3 separate regions of the Homo sapiens genome follow, and regions 1 and 3 are each linked to region 2. Evidence: promoter capture Hi-C in human tissues and cell types (Jung and others, 2019). All regions are on one chromosome and are shown on one strand. Each heading gives the region's core, a stretch centred on a gene start or on the middle of the fragment in contact. The rest is flanking DNA. Distances are from core to core; before and after follow the strand shown.

Evidence for each region. Contacts are between HindIII fragments. The study calls those that stand out against the background at their distance.
Region 1: a fragment that was not itself captured here is called in contact with the fragment with the promoter of DACH1 in region 2 in 1 of the 25 tissues and cell types used here (lymphoblastoid cells).
Region 3: a contact is called between a fragment that was not itself captured here and the fragment with the promoter of DACH1 in region 2, in 1 of the 25 tissues and cell types used here (dorsolateral prefrontal cortex).

What each region holds. Positions count from the first base shown.
Region 1 is chr13:71,329,068-71,331,767 of GRCh38, reverse strand. No RefSeq gene overlaps it. Among named protein-coding and RNA genes, the nearest start is that of LINC00348, 320 kb to the right of the region's middle. The HindIII fragment of the contact is 8,737 bases long and covers 1-2,700 here.
Region 2 is chr13:71,865,856-71,868,555 of GRCh38, reverse strand. DACH1 (dachshund family transcription factor 1) reads left to right here and starts at 1,352. Exons shown (of 11, transcript NM_080759.6): 1 at 1,352-2,634. The coding sequence starts at 1,787. The HindIII fragment of the contact is 6,446 bases long and covers 1-2,700 here.
Region 3 is chr13:72,701,055-72,703,754 of GRCh38, reverse strand. It overlaps the pseudogene RPL21P110. Among named protein-coding and RNA genes, the nearest start is that of MZT1, 25 kb to the left of the region's middle. The HindIII fragment of the contact is 4,439 bases long and covers 1-2,700 here.

The DNA.
Region 1 (2,700 bases), core at 128-2,627, 540 kb after region 2:
CAGATTGCCCTGCGAATTCACTTCTCTGATGGATCTAAGAAAAGTTGTTGATTTTTTGGTTTGTTCAGCTTTTTACTTGTGAGAATGGAGCAGTGTCTTCCAAGCTGCTAACATGCTGGACCAGAAACTACTAACTCCTATAATGTGAGCTTTAAAATACGTTTGGAAATTTCAGACGTAGATGCTATCATATGGGCTAGGCACTGTTCTCAGTGCTATACACATTTTAACACATTTCAACCTTAAAACTACTCTAGGAAATAGTTACTGTTATGGATTTTACTTTACAAGAGAGGAGACAGGCACAGAGAGACTAAGAAATTTTCAAAAGGCCACATAGCTTCATCACTTACAAATTACGGCACAATAATATGAATCCAACCTGTTTAAATCCAATCCATGCTCTTAATCTATATGCCATTTTTCATTGGACACTACAATTATTTACATTCTTTCTGCCCTTTCTTCTTTATAAAGTTGCCTAATTTAGTTCTGGAATCCACCTGTCATAAGTTGGCCTTCTCCTTTGGAAGAAGAGGTCTCATCCATTCCTAGCAAGAGCTGAATCATACAGGGCTTACTGATTATGGTGGTTCCATTCTCTTGTTTTAGAACTGGTATAGACACAGACATGCAATAAAATTTTGCTCAAAGAGACATAAGAGAAGTTCCAGGAGACTCTTTGAAAGGTGTCTCTTTTTTTTTTTTTTTTTTTTTTTTTTTTTTTTGCTGCACACTATCATGTCTGGATATATCTGGAACTTCTGGAGTCATCTTGTGTATCTAAGAAGGTCACGTTGGGGAGAATGGGAAGATAGATAATAAAGAAGAAGGTTGGCATGGCTCACACCTGTAGTCCCTGCAACTTGGGAGGCTGAGGAGGGAGGATTGCTTGAGCCCAGACGTTCAAGACTGCAGTGAGCTATGATTGTACCACTGCACTCCACCCTGGGCAATAGAGTGAGAGATTCTGCCTCAAATAAATAAATAAACAAATGGGATAATATAGAAAGTACCTGAGCTCCTGGTTATGTCATGAAGCTGTTAAATTCACCTAGCCCTGGAGCTAGCTTTGTTAATTTTTTTTATGTAAAACACTAACATTTCCTAATTGTAAGACATTTTGATAAGGGTTTTCTGTAACGGTACTGAGAGTAACTAACTTAATAGAAAAACAAAAATAAAAACAAACAAAAACAAAACAAAACAAAAAGCGGGGAGGGTGAGTAAAACTTAAATATTTTTTAAAGTTATGTCTTTCATTTACCAAATGATATTTCCTACCATGAGATTCAGAAAATTTGGTTCCTAGAAATAAAAGCAATGTTCTCTGCAAATTTGAAGCAAACTTTCAAGATAAGTAAAAATGCATGGTATTGAATAAGGTAGAATTTAAAGTCAGTCTCTCTTGTTTCAACTTGTTATTCCAACTCTTACAAATGTTATAACCTTAAACAAGCTATTTAATCCTTTTCTAGGTCTCGGTTTCCTCATGTGTAAAACAGATAACTGATAGAAACTACCTCAGAGATACTATGAGGATTAAATGAGAGAATCTATGTAAAATTCTTAGCAAGTAACTGAGACATCATAAGAACTAAATAAATGTGAGTTATTACAATGAACATTTTCATTTTCTGAATTACAACATTCCCTAACAATTTTTCTCTGCTTTACAAGATAATCAAGTTCCTATAAGGGAAATTCACATGGGAAAAATATTAGTTCCAGTTATTGTACCTTACTAGGAATGTTTATTAAAATTCTCAACCTGTATAGTTGTAAAGGAAAAAATAAGAATTAGATTTTTTCAACTAAATCACTTTAGAAATAAGTTTATATTTTAGAATTCGCTTTTTATTCTAGTTACACTGTTGATTTTTCATTCTTTGATATAGAACAGCAAAACAAAAATTCATATGATGTTACTATTAAGAATGTTAATCTTAAATTTAGAAAATTAAACTTAGTTTTCCATTTGTACCAGGTATTGGCCATTGGTAGTTGAGATTCTGATACCTTGTGTGCATCTTTTAAGTTATTTTTTTAAATGAATATAGTAATGAAATGGAAGTTCCATGTAAATATGCTAGCATAATAAGCTGCTTTGAGTCCTTGACAATGATGCATACTTGTGGTAAGTATGAAAATAAAGTTGCCATTTTCCACAATATTAATCAGTCCCTTTGCCTCTCTTTATAACGAGGTTTTAAAAAATGCATTTTCCCAAGACTCTTCTTATTCATTTATTTTCTTAGTTTTTTTTTTTTTTTAAGCCATAGACCCAATGATTCCCTCTGATAGCCTTTTCTCATTTTATTCTCAATAATGACTCTTTGGGGAGCAATGCTATGGGGAATGAGATTGATCACCCATCACTGCTGCTGATGTGCTGTTTAACCAAGTCGGTGAACCATATACTGTCATCATAGAGGGTATCAAATCAACAGTGTGTGCCATGTAGCCTACACTCCTGTGCACCTAACAATAATGATAATCTTTTAGTTCATTAGACAGCCCAAGGAACTGCTAAGTAAGTTGCAAGATAAAAATGTTTTATGCAATTCAGGGCAATCTATATGACTGAAGAAGTTGAAAAACAGTATCTGGGGTATGTGACTTTCTGATTTAGACCTTATATGTTCCACTGATTTCAGCATTTAAGTTAAACTAGAAAAAGAAGAGCGTTTCAGTTTTGTA
Region 2 (2,700 bases), core at 103-2,602:
TACTGAACATGTGTGGACCGGTTCAAAGGCTAACTAATTGAAGATACTTGGAGACATGAGCAGCAAATAGATTTGACCCATATTCAAATGATATGTTAGTCAAAAATCCTTGAATAAATACTTCAGTGCAACAAGTTAGAAAAGAAAAGAAAAGGAAAGAGGAAGGAAAGGAGGAATAGAGTCAGTCTAAACTCAGCCTCATGTTGTTTTAAGCACAGCTACCCAAGTCTTTACAAGTCAACTAGTGAGCTTTGTTTTTGTTCTTCCCATTATTTACAAAACATATATTTACTGACAAATTGAAAAGGACTTTCCAAAACTACAGCAGCACTTTTCAAACATGAAAAAAAAAAAAAAAAAACTATTGTGTTGTCCAAAAAACACATTAGCAATTGGCTTTGGGTCTTAAAGGACATGAGGATAGTTGGTTACTGTGTAAGACAGGTGAATTAATTATAGAGTTTTGGGTAAGAAAACCCTTTTTCCACTTTCTAAATCTTCAAGGATACCTTATCTCCTTGATAGCTCTAGGTTTAACAGGTATTTCTGACTGGCTTTTGGGGAGACAGTGAAGTTATTCTAAATCATCCACATCAAGGCAAGCATTTCTTTCCACAACCTATTAGGAAATATGGAATTGAATACAGAGCTTTCCATTATTCTTAAGCGATTTCGGACTGACTTTCTTCTCACCACTTGAAAACTGTCCTGGAATTTTCACTATCTTTATATAAATAAATAATTTAGTAGAGAAATAAACAATCAGATGCAAAAGAACATTACGCTTTGCTTACATGTGAATTTTCCTCAAAATAATTTCTGAATAATCGTGAAGTGGGGGCTGTGTTTTCGTTTCTAGCTCATTGCCAAAACGCGTGGAGATGGATCCTAAATCCTGGAAGGAGAGAGCTCGGCGCGCTCAGGCTCCTCTTTAAGTTGGCGGGCGATTGTTTAGAAGCTTTGGAAAAAATTACCAGTCCCCGCGGACGAAATGGAATGTGAGACATGCAATCTAACGGTAGTAGTAGAAGAGAAGTAGATGATCTCCCTCTCCTTTTCCGATCGCCACTTCTGTGTCCCCGGCTTTTCCTCTCCGTCCCTCCCACAGTTTCTTTCCGTATCCTCCCCCTCCCCTCCTCCTTTCCTCGCACGCTCCCTCTCCAGTGTCTCGCGCTCTCGGAGTCTCTGCTCCGAGTTCCTGGTTGGATAATTTGGGTTAATACTAGTGAGTGAGGTTTTTGCGGCTTCAAAGGGTATTTCAAGTTTCCGGAGCTCCTCCCCTCTGCACCGTGTGACAACAACAACTCGTCCAGCCGGCAGCCTGCACTTTTCAGCTCATTTTCTCTCTGTCATTCCCCTCTCAATCTTTGATCAATGTACTTGCCAGGGAGAGCCCAAGTCCTTCAAACCTCCTCCTTTTCACCTTCATCCTTAACTTTGTGCTAGAGCGAGACCCACACAACAACAGCCGACCCTCCCCGCCCCACCCCCACCCCCAAACCAGCCCTCGATCCCAGCCCCCGGAGAGGACTCGCATTTCGACTTGCGGGACACTTTTGTGCGTTCCTCTCCAGAGCGCCTCTCGTGCTCGCCCCTCTTGCGCTCGCTCTTTATTACCTTCACCTCCTTTTCTCCCCCTTCTCTCCCTTTCTCCTTCTCGTTCTCTCCCGGAGTTGTTGTTGCCCCCCTCGCTCCTTCTCCCCCCTTTTTTCCCCTTCCCCTCCCGGGGGTGTGTGGCAACTTTTCCTCTCGCTTCTCCTCCGTCTGTTTCCCCTTATATGTGACCATGGCAGTGCCGGCGGCTTTGATCCCTCCGACCCAGCTGGTCCCCCCTCAACCCCCAATCTCCACGTCTGCTTCCTCCTCTGGCACCACCACCTCCACCTCTTCGGCGACTTCGTCTCCGGCTCCTTCCATCGGACCCCCGGCGTCCTCTGGGCCAACTCTGTTCCGCCCGGAGCCCATCGCTTCGGCGGCGGCGGCGGCGGCCACAGTCACCTCTACCGGCGGCGGCGGCGGCGGCGGCGGCAGCGGAGGCGGCGGCGGCAGCAGCGGCAACGGAGGCGGCGGTGGCGGCGGCGGCGGTGGCAGCAACTGCAACCCCAACCTGGCGGCCGCGAGCAACGGCAGCGGCGGCGGCGGCGGCGGCATCAGCGCTGGCGGCGGCGTCGCTTCCAGCACCCCCATCAACGCCAGCACCGGCAGCAGCAGCAGCAGCAGTAGCAGCAGCAGCAGCAGCAGCAGTAGTAGCAGCAGCAGCAGTAGCAGCAGCAGCTGCGGCCCCCTCCCCGGGAAACCCGTGTACTCAACCCCGTCCCCAGTGGAAAACACCCCTCAGAATAATGAGTGCAAAATGGTGGATCTGAGGGGGGCCAAAGTGGCTTCCTTCACGGTGGAGGGCTGCGAGCTGATCTGCCTGCCCCAGGCTTTCGACCTGTTCCTGAAGCACTTGGTGGGGGGCTTGCATACGGTCTACACCAAGCTGAAGCGGCTGGAGATCACGCCGGTGGTGTGCAATGTGGAACAAGTTCGCATCCTGAGGGGACTGGGCGCCATCCAGCCAGGAGTGAACCGCTGCAAACTCATCTCCAGGAAGGACTTCGAGACCCTCTACAATGACTGCACCAACGCAAGGTGAGTCGGGGGGGATAGCCCCCGCCGCCCGCGCCCCTTCCCACCAGCCTGCTCGCCTGCCCTCGC
Region 3 (2,700 bases), core at 29-2,528, 840 kb before region 2:
TTTCTAAAAGGCCTGGAGAACGTATATCAGGTGCCTCTCTTCTTTCCCTTTGTGTTTGTCATTTTGGCGAATTATTGGAAGATGGCGGTTCCGGCCGAAAGGCCAGAATATTGAGGTATCTTATGGCTCCCCAGAAGCTGAGTGAACATGCATGCATGTTATATCAGAAGCGGTCCACACTATGACCTCTGATTACCTAAAGCAGTAAATCGCCAGATGTACACTTGGAGAATTATATCAAAAGCCTTTAAAGAGGTCGTTCAGATAATTTTACTTTCACATATGTGGGAAAACTATTTCACCTGTTTTTTTAGAGGTGAATCTACCTACTCTCCTACCAGCAAATCGCCTTTTTATTGTAACAGCAATACCTTTATTTTGCATGTACTTTGAGAATTAAAATATCCATGACTTCTTAAGTGGAAAAACCAGCATTATTTTCCCATAGCTATAAAAATAATTAAAATTAAATATGGAATTATATCTTTGCTAGGTATTGTCTTTTAAAACTATGATTCTAACACCTACTTTTCCTTCTGTAGAAAAGCAGATGAGCACCGGGCGCGGTGGTTCATGCCTGTAATCCCATCACTTTGGGAGGCTGAGGCGGGCGGATCACCTGAGGTCAGGAGTTCGAGACCAGCCTGACCAACATGGTGAAACCCCATCTACTAAAAATACAAAAATTAGCCAGGCATCGTGGTGCGCAGCTGTAATCCTAGCTACTCGGGAGGCTGAGGCAGGAGAATCACTTGAACCTGGGAAGTGGAGGTTGCAGTGATCTGAGATCATACCACTGCACTCCAGCCTGGGTGACAGAGCAAGACTCCGTCTCAAAAAAAATAAAAATAAAAATAAAAAAGTAAAGCAGATGAGCAAGTGTCAGAACACGGAACTGCATTTCCTCTAGATGTCGCCAGAAGGATTAGAACAGTATTGAAATCAACTTCTTCACTGTGGTATTTAATGCATTTTAAATGCAATGTCCCTGTGTACCACCTCATTTCATCCCATACTTTGGAAAACCACTATCTTAGATAATCCCCAAGATTCCTGTTGGCTCTAATATAATTTAGTAGGCAGCTCAGGCTTTGGTGTCAGACAGGAGGCTTGGACTCGTTGTGCCCTCTCCAAGTCTGACAATAACAACACAACAGCTCACAGCACTGTGAGGATTAAATGGCGATGATGGATATAAAATCCATAGCATTCCACTTGGCACATAGTAGGAGCTTCATAAATGTTCAACTCCATTTTCTTTTGTATAAATTAGACCTACCTAGTAACTTCATTTCAGGAGTGGCTCAGTGGTTGTGAAGTGACATATTTAAGATGTATTTTTTTTTCTCACCAATAGAATTAGACTGAATGTTTTTATAAGTTGTCATTTTAATGTACTCATTTTTGGAAACATATAATGTATTTAAATATAAGCATATACTGTGCTTATATAGGAAGGAAGATAAAGACACCATACTAATAAAAATGAAAGATTAACATGTAGCTAAATTTTAGTGTCAAGACTTGCATAGCTAATTAGAGAAAGGAGCCCATGGGGATGAGAATGTGTTGGGAGAAGAAGTAAAGATTATGAATAAATTTTAAATCTCTATTTTCAACATAAAAAGAGCTCGTTGTTCTCAGTTGCTTCTGATAAACCCAAATGGGAATATCCGTGATCTTTGTTCCTGCTGAACACCGAGAACCATCATGTAAAATAGGAGCAAACAGCTGGCTAAATGAAAGCTTCCTTGGAAGTCTACTGACGGAAAACTGTAGGGAGCTAGGGGCAGTCAGAGAAAAAGCTCTGTAAGATTTAATTTAAGCCCTGGATAAACACCATTCCTGCTTTCACCAGCTTTACCTAATAGAAATGGATTTTGTCAATCAAGGCCAAGTTCAGAGACAATGAGCGAGAGGGAGGGAGGGAGGCGTTTTGCATGGAACAAAGACAAAAGTGTTTTAATTTCACAAAAATACCACTCATGTTAAAATGCAAGACCCTGGGAGCCCTAGGATTTTAGGAAAAACTGGTATTAACCTGACCTTTCAATGTACCAGACATTAGCATGACTTAGATACAAATAATTGTGATAAATTATGATGATCCCTGCATTGTCACTTTCATCAGTTTTGGAAAGGTTTGAGAATCTATGTTAAGATTTAGCAGTAAATGTGGTTAACTAGGGAACCCCTAGGGGAACTAACGTGGGAGAGAGAAAAAGCTTTTTTTTTTTTTTGAGAGGAGTCTTGCTCTGTCGCCCAGGCTAGAGTGCAGTGGCGCAATCTTGGCTCACTGCAACCTCTGCCTCCCAGGTTCACGCGATGTTTTCTCTTTTCTTTTTTTTTTTGAGACAGTGTCTCACTCTGTCGCCCAGGCTGGAGTGCAATGGCACGATCTTGGCTCACTGCAAACTCTGCCTCCTGGGTTCAAGTGATTCTCCTGGCTTAGCCTCCCAAGTAGCTGGGATTACAGGTGTGAGCCACCACACCTGGCTAATTTTTGTATTTTTAGTAGAGATGGAGTTTTAGCATGTTGGCCAGTGTGGTCTTGAACTCCTGACCACAGGTGATCCGCCTGCCTTGGCCTCCCAAGTGCTGGGATTACAGGCATGAGCCACCATGCTCAGCCAGAAGATGCTTTCTCACTTGGGATTTCTCAGGTCTTCTCCCACTTTCAGCACTATGTGCCAAGCTTTG